Regions from separate parts of the Homo sapiens genome. Here region 1 is linked to region 2. The links are contacts of gene promoters, found by promoter capture Hi-C in blood cells and fetal thymus (Javierre and others, 2016). All regions are on one chromosome and are shown on one strand. Each heading gives the region's core, a stretch centred on a gene start or on the middle of the fragment in contact. The rest is flanking DNA. Distances are from core to core; before and after follow the strand shown. Region 1 has its middle 39 kb from the start of CLRN3. Region 2 holds the start of EDRF1-AS1 (EDRF1 antisense RNA 1).

Evidence for each region. Contacts are between HindIII fragments. The CHiCAGO score rates a contact against its expected background, and 5 or more counts as called.
Region 1: a fragment that was not itself captured here is called in contact with the fragment with the promoter of EDRF1-AS1 in region 2 in 1 of 17 cell types (neutrophils); the score reaches 6.6 in neutrophils.

Annotation. Positions count from the first base shown.
Region 1 is chr10:127,851,112-127,856,555 of GRCh38, forward strand. No RefSeq gene overlaps it. Among named protein-coding and RNA genes, the nearest start is that of CLRN3, 39 kb to the right of the region's middle. RefSeq lists a silencer at 2,979-3,058. The HindIII fragment of the contact is 5,917 bases long and covers 1-4,468 here.
Region 2 is chr10:125,747,880-125,753,428 of GRCh38, forward strand. It overlaps EDRF1-AS1 (EDRF1 antisense RNA 1), which reads right to left and starts at 4,181. Exons shown (of 5, transcript NR_120633.1): 1 at 4,106-4,181; 2 at 2,561-2,602; 3 at 1,496-1,649. EDRF1 (erythroid differentiation regulatory factor 1) reads left to right here. Exons shown (of 25, transcript NM_001202438.2): 21 at 1-133; 22 at 1,533-1,686; 23 at 4,920-5,035. The HindIII fragment of the contact is 4,478 bases long and covers 1,011-5,488 here.

The DNA.
Region 1 (5,444 bases), core at 260-2,759, 2.1 Mb after region 2:
AGAAGGAGGGAGAGGCAGGGTGCCAGGAAGGCCACCTGGGCAAAGTGCTGGGCGGCTCGGGCCAGAGGAGGCCAAGGCAGAGGGATGGGTCTGGGCCCGAGAGGTCAGGTGAGGTGGAGCTGGCACTGCCTGGGGAGAGGCTGTGACTGGGAGGCCCCTGGAGCCTTGTGCAGGAGCAGCGTCTGCGGGAAGGGCAGCTGAAAGCAGGAGCACATCGGGTGCCACCCAGTGGGGTGGAACAGCAGAGAAGAAGGCAGGTGCCCCAGGCAACTCCTTGATGTGTTTGCCTTGAGGAGGGGCCCAGAGGATGCTTCATGGGGACAAGAGGTGCCAGTAGAGGGGAGAGGCTGTGGTTTTAGGGAAGAGGACAAGAGGAGGGAGGTCAGAGAGATTGGGGTTGGCCTGGAGTTCTAGGGACCGCTCGTCTTTTCAAGACTTTTCTGACTAGACCTTCTGGAGAACTTTTTATAATTTCCACTTAGAGTTTTTCCAGAGGAGGAACAAGAGGCTTTGATGGGGACATCCAAGAACTGGTGTGACCTGGGGGATGGCGCTGTGCCTGGCAGAAGCTGTGCCCCAGGGGAAGGAGGCAGGCCCTAGTCCCCAGACTCCCCTCTTCTGCAGCTAGAAGGAGGATGGCAGGGCCAGGCAGGACACAGAGAAGAGCCAGCAGGGCCCATCCCCTCTAGGTGAGCGGGATCTCCGGGCCCCCAGGAAATGGGAGCATCCAAAGCAGCATTGACCACAAGGGGCAGGGAGGAGAGGCTGGAAAGGAGGTCTGTGCATAACGCCTCCGATTCCTGGTAGAACCTCACAACAGCTCGTTGACGGCGGGTCGGTGAGCATTTAAAGAGCAGCAGATTCTCATTCAGAGGCAGTGTGGTTCCATGGAAAGCAAAGCATTTCAGTGATGCGTGCTTAATTCAATCAGCTTACTTTACGCAAAAAGGATCCAGTGCCAGGAGTCCCCGGCCTGTCATGAAGGGTGGGGACAACGGTGTCCAAGAGCCACAAATAAAATGCCAAGGGAATGCTGTGACGGGGGCCCTGGAGGGCTTTGTGGAGGAGGTTGAAAGATTCTCAGAGCCTTCAACAATGCTCTGTGGAAGAATTTGGGAGGTTACATTGAAATGGTAGGTGGGCGAGGCTGGGGGAAAAAGGGAAGATTTCCAACACTTTGGATCTACAAGGACACAACAGGTTTTGTTTTTTTAAATGGCTGTGGCTAAAATCAGCTTCCTGGTAGCATCATAAATGGGGATGGAAACCCTCATAAGCCTGGTGTCAGTGGTGGTGGCACCTTGGTGAGCAGGTGACCAAATGGCCTGAGTGGTGACGTTAATCTACCTGTTCACTGGCTGTTGCCAAAGCGAGGCCTATTGGGACAGGTTTGCATTTCTTCTTGGCTTCTAAGACCAGGTTATGACAGACATCCTACAATGCAGGAGGAGCTGGACAGGAGGACAACATCACACCTGGCCCTGCCATCCTCCATCTCCAGAAGCCATGGTCCAGCAGGGAGATGCACGACTCATGGTCTTCCACGCTGAGTGGAAAAGCCATGGCAACGCGGGCACTGCCAGGGGTTTCAGGGTGCTCTGCATCTGTTTCTTAAATAAGACTGTCTTGTTAATCCTGAACATTCCAGCTGCTTTTGTCACAGTGTCCCCGGACAAGAGGGAGCCTGAGAGAGACTTAGAGATCAGGAGAAGCAAACCGGCCCACAAGTGTGATGGATGCTGTGTCAGAGTGTCTAGGATCCAGGAGCCCCGCTCTCCCCTTAGAGACGGATGCAGTTCCGTGCACACAGGCCCTCTTTCCTGTGTAGGGGAGGGGCATGCTGTCTGCACATGGCATGCTCCCTCCTGCCCAGGGAAGCCAACTGCCATATTAGCAAAGATGGTTTGAAAATGAACAAGAATCCCAACTTAAAATATATATATATATGCAGTCATTCCTTGGTATCCGAGGGGGATTGGTTCCAAGACCCCCATGGTAACAAAATCTGCAGATGCTCAAGTCCCTGATATAAAATAGTGTCGTATTTGCATAGAACTTACACAATCCTCTTGTGTACTTTAAATCATCTCTAGATTACTTATATATATCTAATACAATGCAAATGCCAAGTAAATGGTTGTTATACTGTCTTTTTAGAATTGGTATTATTTTTCATTGTTGTATTGTGATTTTTATTGTTTTTTAAAGTATTTTTTATCCTGGCAGGGTGCAGTGGCTTACGCCTATAATCCCAGCATTTTGGGAGGCTGGGTCACTAGACCCTAGGAGTTGGAGACTAGCCTGGGAGACAAAGTAAGACCCCATCTCTACAAAAAAAAAAAAAAAACGCTGGATGTGGGGTCGGGCACCAGTGACCTCAGCTACACGGGAGGCTGAGTCAGGAGGATTGCATGACCCAGAGGTCTAGGATGCAGTAAGCCGTGATCACACCACTGCACTCCAGCCTGGGTGACAGAACAAAACCCGTCAAAAAAAACAAAAAACAAAAAAAAACAAAGAAACATAAAACTGTTTTTTAATCCGAAGTTGGCTGAATCCATGGAACCCACAGGTGTGTAGAAGGACATCTCCCACAATGTTAAGTCATCACTTACCAGTGTCAGCTTCCTGATGTGGCTAAGTTTAGACACACACGCGGGCTCGCACGAAAGATCCTAATGTCGAATAAATTGGGGGGAAAAATCAGTTCAGCTAGATGGACAGATTCCTGGAAGTCTTAGTGTGCACACATGTGCTGTGCCTGTGCAGGAGGGCAGTGGGGAAGGCAGAGCCCCGTGTGAAGGGACATCTTTGACAACAAGAGCATTTCCAAAACCACCGGGGAAGTATGCATGTGCAGCAGGTGGGTTTCAGTTCCCTCCAGCGTCTCACATGCTGGAACGGTCTCTCCATCAGCTCTGACCCAGGCCCAGAGGCCTGACACTCCTGCTGAGTGCTCAGGTCCTGGTGGCACAAGCCTTCCCCAGTCCTGCAGCCTTCGGGAAGCGGCGGTGCCCAGGGCGCAGAGCTCTGGCGTTGCACTCATGGGCTTATGCTGCCCTCTAGTGCTGTGCTCTTGAAATAGCTGTGTGGCTTTGCCACTTAAAGCTGATGCGGAATCTAGGGCCTCGTGGGCCCTCTAAAGAAACTGCCTCATTGCATCAAAATCAATGCCCTGCTCTTCTAACAGACGCTCTCTAATGCCCTGTAATGAAACCCATACAGATGATCACCTATCTATGCTCCAAATCGCAAAAGATAAACATAATGTCTTAACTTTAATATAAAGTGGAAGTATAAGAACTTAAAGAAAAGTAGCTTTTATAGCATGGAACTTGTCTTGCAATGAGCTTGACCTACACTCACCAGAAGCAATTTCTTAAATACCCACTCAGAGGTGACACTGCTTCCGCTGAGAAACGCTCGTGGAAGGTCGGGCTGGCCAGCCTTGCTGTAAAGGGCCAGGTGGTGCATACGCATGGCTTTGTGGGCCATAAGCTCCCAGCCACACCTACACAGCCCTGTCATTGTGACGCAAAGGCAGCTGCAGACAGCAGCAAGTGAATGGGCATGGCCACATTCCAACAAAACATCATTTGCAAAAAGAGGCAGTTGGCTAGATTTGGCCCAGAGGTTAATGATTTGTGGATCCCTGGTCTAGAGCATCCCCTTCGGTTTACAGATTGGGAAACTGAGGCTCAGCGTAGAGGAGGGGATAGTGGTCACGACTAGGAAATTAGACCCTGAGCCAAGTCCACTGGCTCCAGCCCATCCATCCCAGCTCTTTGGCCGGAGCTCTGCGGGCTGTGACTCAGGTGGTCTCTCCTCAGGTGTACGGGGGAGGTTTGGTGACCCCAGGGATGATCCCAGGGAAAGGAAGGTCTGTGTTGGGCTTTCTCTGACAACGGCAGTTCCCTCCCATGCCCCCCGTCCTCCCCAGCTCTGATTCATTCATTCACTCAGGTCTCCACTGAGTACCAACCTGTGTCTGCCCACCCTGCAGTCATTCCTCCTGGCCAAGCAGCCTGTGCTGATCACAGCTCCCAACCCCTAGAAAATGAAAATAAAGATATGCAAATTACATCATTAGATTCAACAGGCAGACACTCGGTCAAATGGCTCTAAAAGTGTCTTGGCTCTCAGTTCCTCTTCTTGCTGCATGGTGGGATAGCAGATCCCGTGATGGGCTCCAGCACTAGCTCCAGGGCGGCCAGGCTGGCTCGTGGCCTCATGGAGGTGGGGACCAGGCAAGCTGGGGCTTGGTAAGGCTCCTGGCAACCCAGGGCCCATGGGGTGGCCGAAAGGGCTGTGCTTGTGTGTGTCCTTGTCCTCAAAGTCACTCACTGTAGCATCCCCTTGTCCCCACAGGCCCCTCTTCCCCGCAGGAACTCTCAGGATGGGCCGCCCCTGCACCACTGGGCTGAGAGGACCAGAGCCCAGGAACTGTCTGTGGTTCCAGGGTTGGGGAAGCTTCCAGTCATATGGGAGCTCATAAGGCCAGGACCCATCTCTTCAGCTAGGCTAGGAGGCCAGTCTGGTCCCAACCTCCTGGCTCCTTACACTGTCCTCATCCTGGGGGCCCAGGCTAACAACCGGAGTCAGATCCTGGAAGGAGGGTGTCTACTGGGGGTCTAGAGGCATGGAGATGGCTCCTGCAGGGGCTGGAGCTGGCTGAGGTCAAGGGTTCCCTCGGGGCCAGGGAACAAGCACCTTCTACTAGCCTCTTGGGGACCTGGAAATAGCAGACCAGGGCCCACAGACCTGGGCACTTGTCTGGCCCCCTGGATTTAGCCCCATGGTAAGTTGGGGAGGCTGAGGATTCACTTTTGTATCCTATTGCTGATGGAGCCTGTCAGACAGACACAGCAGGGATCTGTGATGGCCGCGCTCCAGAAACCCAGGAGCAGGTCTCGGGGCTCTTTGAGAGGCCCTGTGGTGAAGCCAGGCTGGGATCATGAATCAGCCGGGACAGGCAGGGAGGATCTGGGATTCTGGAGCAGGAGTAGTGGCCTAGAACAGGAGGGGGCCCAGCAAGCCCAGGTCCAGGCCCCACATTTGACAGAAGGAAGCAACGCTGCCCCCCAGGGGAGCGGCCTCCAGAATTTCAGGAAGCGTCAGTGTGTTTGTCTGCTTGGGCTGCCTTAGCAAAGGTCACAACCTGGGAGGCTCCAAGCAACAAAAGTTTACTTTGTCACAGTCACGAAGACCAGAAGTCCCAATCCAAGGCATCCGCAGGGCCATGCTCCCTCCGAAGCCTCTGGGGGTGAAGTCTTCCTTCCCCCTCGGGCCAAGCCCCGGTGCTGCTTGGCTGGAGGGGCATCGCTGCACTCTGCCTCGTCTTCACACACCTCTTCCTCCCAATGTCTGTCTTCACTCAGCACTCTCCTCTATATGCGTCTTCATGTCCAAATCTCCTTCCTCTTATGCAGACACCATCACATTGA
Region 2 (5,549 bases), core at 2,931-5,430:
TGAGGCCATGATGAAGTCCCTAAAATACTGCGATGTGGATTCAGTGTCTGCTCGACAGCCCCTTTGTCAGTATCGAGCTGCAACCATCCATCACAGGCTGGCCTCCATGTACCACAGCTGTCTGAGGAATCAGGTATTGTCAGTCCAAGTTAAGTACAGTGCCACATCAGTTTAAAAGTGTTCTGGGTGCTTTTTGTTTTTTTAACATGGTCATATATGTCTTCCTTGACGTCCACTCAGGTGAACTGCTGTCCTAAATTTTCTGCTGCGTCTGTGCCTTTTTTTGTGCTGTGCCACTTAAACAATATGTCCGCATTGTGCTCCATGTTGAGCATGGGAAAACGAATCCGCTGTTGGTGTTCTGTGGCTTACTGCCTGTCACTTAACATCGTGTTTTTGAGATACATCTGTGTTGGCACACGTAGCTGTTCATTTTCTCAGCTCAGTAGTCATTAAATGACTATATCTTAGTTTATCTAGTCTATGATTAGTGAATTTTGGGGTTATTCCAGATTCCAGTTTGATGCTATTAGAAATAATCTAGTGCCAGCAGGATTGTACATGAATCCTGGTGCCCAAATGCCTGTATTTCTGAGAATAATCTGAGGCCGAGGATAAAGGCACTTCCTTCCGAGAGATTGCTTGGCTTTTGCTGCGAGTCTTGGGCCTGTAGTTTCTCAGTGATGTTTTTTTGTTTGTTTTGTTGATTTTCCCCCCCCGTAAGGTAAGACTACTTACCTTACAGTCCCTTTGGCATGAGTTTACTTCTGGGTTGCCTTTATTCTGAAAAGTATCTTTTGAGATACAGCTTAAACTGGAGAAGTTCTTTTTCTTTTTTTTTGAGACAGGGTCTCACTCTGTTGCCCAGACTGGAGTGCAGTAGCACGATCTCAGCTTACTGCAACCTCCGCCTCCCAGGCCTCCCCACTCTTTTGCATATAGATATCTAGTTGTCCCAGCACCATTTGCTGAAAAGACTACTCCTCTGCTGCATTGTCTTGGCACCCTTAAGCTTGCTTTTGCCCTCAGGATATTAGGCCATCTGGGCAAACCTGAATTTTGGTTGAGGACTTCCTAAGTCGAAGTGGAAAGAAATCTTCTCCAGTTCATGCCTGTAATCCCAGCACTTTGGGAGCCGAGGTGGTTGGATCATTTGAGGTCGGGAGTTAGAGAGCAGCCTAGCCAACATGACAAAACCCCAGAAAAAAATTAAAAAATTAGCCAAGCAGTAGTGGCGGGTGCCTGTAATCCCAGCAACTTGGGAGGCTGAGGCAGGGGAATTGCTTGAGTTCAGGAGGCGGAGGTTGCAGTGAGCCAGGATTGCACCACTGCATCTCCAGCCTGGGCGACAGAGCGAGACCCTGTCTCAAAAAAAAAAAAAGAAAGGAAATGGATTAAAGACCTAAATATAAAAGCTAAAACTAATAAGACCTAGTAAGACCCACAGTGGGGGAAAAATAACTAAGAAGCACTTAGTGAAGCCTGAAGTAGTTACCGTGAAGGATTTGTTGCTTGTTTTGGTTTGGTTCTAGGTTGGTGATGAACACCTTAGGAAACAACACCGGGTGCTGGCAGATCTTCATTACAGCAAGGCCGCAAAGCTGTTTCAGCTGCTGAAAGATGCTCCCTGCGAACTGCTTAGAGTACAGCTAGAGAGAGTAGCATTTGCTGAATTTCAGATGACCAGTAAGTCTTAATTTTCATTTCTCAGATATGTATGCATTGGCTTAGTGCTGGATTGTCTTAGAGTAAGGCAGGCCTGTGAATCTAAATAATACTATTTTCTTTTTAATTTGCCCCATAGTTAATGACTTCGGGTAGAGAGGGTGAGAAATCACTACATGTTTTGAAGTGCTTTTTAAAACTTAGAGGAATGTATTAGATTATGTTCAGTGACTAGAAATACTGAGATATGGCCCATGACCCCTAGTTTGGAAAAAAAATTGACAAATAAATTTAGACAGTTAAAGAATTCAATCGGCCAGGCACAGTGGCTCACGCCTGTAATCCCAGCAATTTGGGAGGCTGAGGCAGGCAGATCACCTGAGGTCAGGAGTTCTAGAACAACCTGGCCAACATAGTGAAACCCCGTCTCTACTAAAAATACAAAAATTGGCCATGTGTGGTGGTGCAGGCCTGTAGTCCCAGCTACTGAGGAGGTTGAGGTGGGAGAATCACTTGAACCCAGGAGGCGAAGGTTGCAGTGAGCCAAGATCGTGCCACTGCACACCAGCCTGGGTGATAGAGCAAGACTGTGTCTCAAAAAACAAAAACAAACAAAAAAAAAGATTTAAATCGGCATGAAAAATTTGGGAATGGAGAGGCAACAGTAAAGGAGTAGTGGACCTTATTGAACCCCTTAAACATAGAACTGACCCTTGGATTGTGGTTCCAGAACAGACACTACTGTAGAGCCTGACCGAGGTCAAGATAAGTCGGGAGATAGAGAAGGGTGAAAGTGAGAATGCTTTCTTATGTTATTTTCCATGGCATGGAGTAAGCAGATACTTCAACCACTTAATGATTTTTCCTAAGTTCTCCCCCTCTCTCTCTTGCTCACCTATTCTCCTCTCCCGCAGAGGAGTCTTTTGAGAAATATCTCCTGTGTGGTAAAGAAACAAGAAACAATTATTTGAAGTGCAGCAGTTCATTTAGTTTTTCAGTCTGCTGTAAAATAAGGTTAATACTTTAAATCTGTATGACTTAGTTTACATAATACAGTAGCCCCTGAAGGATGCATAAGAAACTGGTAACATTGTTCCCTTTGGGGAGGAAACCTGGAAGGCCAAGAGGAGGGGTTTTGCTGCATACCCATTTGGACCTTGTAAATTTGGGAATGTATTACCTATCTAAAACAGTTTCTAAAAATGGTTTTTACTAAAACTAATTTTTTGCTGGCATATAACGCATGGCTAGATGTGTGGGACAGTCACCAGAATTAACAGTAGCTCTTTATGTGAGGAAGGTTTGGGGAGAGTGATCTTCAGTTTTCACTTGCACCTTTGAATATTCTGCCATGTTTGAATTCCTTAGAATGATCAAGCATCTTTTTTGTTGTTGGGGTTTTGTTTTTTGTTTTGTTTTGTTTTGTTTGAGACAGAGTTTTACCCTGTCACATGGGCTGGAGTGCAGTGGCATGGTCATGGCTCACTGCAACCTTGACCATCTGGGCTCTAGTGATCCTCAGCCTCCCCGAGTAGCTGAGATCACAAGTGCTAATTTTGGAAAAATTGTTTGTAGAGACAGGGTCTCACTATGTTATAAGCCCAGGCTGGACTCAAACTCTTGAGCTCAAGCGATACTCCTGCCTCGGCCTCCCAAAGTGCTGGAAGATACTGGAACAAATTTGCTAAGATGATAAGTGTGTTTAATTCTCTCCTTTAAATGTTTTACTACTGTGAGTACTTTAGAAAATAATGTAAATATTTTAGAGGGTTTTGTTAGCCAGGTTTGTGGGTTTTGTAAGCCAAGTTAATAAATGCTCTAGTTTGTGACACCTTTTATTCTATCTTATTTTACCCAGTGTTTTTTTTTTTGTTTTTTTTTTCTAGTACATATGATTCAGACCTCCCTTCCTAATGTCTATATTGTCTGGTCGTTGTCCCAACAACACTTTCATACATAAGCAATAGCTTGTCTTCCAGATGCCAAATCTATGCTGAAATCACATTGATCCATTGATTTTAAAGAGAATAGGTTGTTTAGAAAGTGTGGGATTATACTTCTAAAGGAAGAAGGCAACAGTTATTCTCTCCCCACCCGCAGAGTCGGGGAGTCCCCAAGACCATTGTCACTTCTCACACTAACTACGAGTCTGTCGGCGGTCTCCAAGACCACCCTCAGGTTTGAGAATTTGCTAAAGGACTCACAGAACTCACTGAAAGCTGTTCTGCTTACAGCCACAATTTCTTAACAATGAAAGGATGTACATTAAAATCAGCCAAGGGAAGAGGCTCGGGAGGCAGAGTCCTGGAGAGTTCTAAGCGCGGAGCTCCCAGTTCCTCTGCTGCTGGAGTTACAGATAGTGCTAACTCACCCCGGCAGTGATGCATGACAGTGCTCACCAAGTGTATCAATCAATACATGTACAACTGCGGAAGCTCACCCAAGCCTTGGTGTCCAGAGTTTTCATTGGAACTTGGTCAGATAGACATGGTTGACTGCCACGTGGCTGATCTTTGTCTCCAGTGCCTCCAGAGGTCAAGCTGTTACCCTGGGGCCCAAAGTCCCCACAGTAAATCCCATTGTTAGGCTATCCATTGTGACCCAAGGACCCCCAGGTAAACAAAGGCGTTCTTACCGGGCAGGACATTTCAAGGACTTAGTGGTTACCTTCTGGGAGCCAAGGACAAAGACTAAACCTCTGTACAAGATTTAATCCTCTACTGCACACCGCACACAATTGAGTTCTAGGAGAACAGGAGCAAAGGTGTCCTGTAGTATCTGATAGCTCTAGAAAAATTGTAGTTAGAAGGCTCTAGAATAAAACAAAACCTTGTTCATCTGGTCTGACTTCCTGCCTTTGAACAGAGATGTAATAAACTATTTTACAGATAGGACAACTGATACTAAGTGCTTATGTGACTTGACCACACAACTGGTAAAATGTGAGGTGGGCCTCGAGCCCCAGACTCTTTTCTGCTGGTCCCTTTTCCTAAGGCTCCTGTTCTGAAAAAGTGGCCTGTCTTGACAAAACCAAATGGTGGGGCAGGGAAACAATGATTATTTATTGCTTTGTCCAGACTTAGTATTTTTGTCAAGGGAATATTATTAAATAGAAGTTGGATTTAGAAGATTTAAGATTCTCATTAGCTTCCTTTATAGCATTTTGAAAGTCTGAATTTTCATTAATACATTAACATTAGATGGGTTTCTAGATTTATATTAAAGAAATGAACGTTTTGTATTTAAAACTTTAGGTCAGAATAGCAATGTTGGAAAGTTGAAAACACTATCTGGGGCTCTTGATATAATGGTGAGAACTGAGCACGCATTCCAGCTTATCCAGAAGGAGCTTATAGAAGAATTTGGCCAGGTACATGGAGAAAATGACTGTCTTTGGTTTTTGTGTGTCTTAAGCTACATGGTGAATGTATATAGTGGACGTGTGTGTGTATGTGTGTGGGTATATATACACACATGTACATATGTATGCTATGCACTAAAACATTTTAACAGTGATTTGTTATATTTGCCTGGTATTCATCTCCTTTCTTTAATTTGCAAGTATTTTAAAATATTTTTAAGAATATATCTCAACAAGACCATAGTTAACAAATTATAAAGTCTCTTAAGTTTTTTTGTTGCTGTTGGTGGGAATTTGTTTTGTTTTATGTTTTAAAAGAAAAGGCCTGTGCCCTCTTTTCTAATTTCCACTAGAATGCCTGGGAGCAGTTGAATGGTGAATGGGCCTAAGCAGGCTCCTCAGGAAGGAATTTCTCGTTTTCTGGGCATTCCGGCATTCATTTTACCTTCTGCTGTTGCTAAAAGCTTCCTGAAGCCCCCATGTTGCGCCCACCTATTGCTCTTCTAGCCCTGCTTGGTCAAAT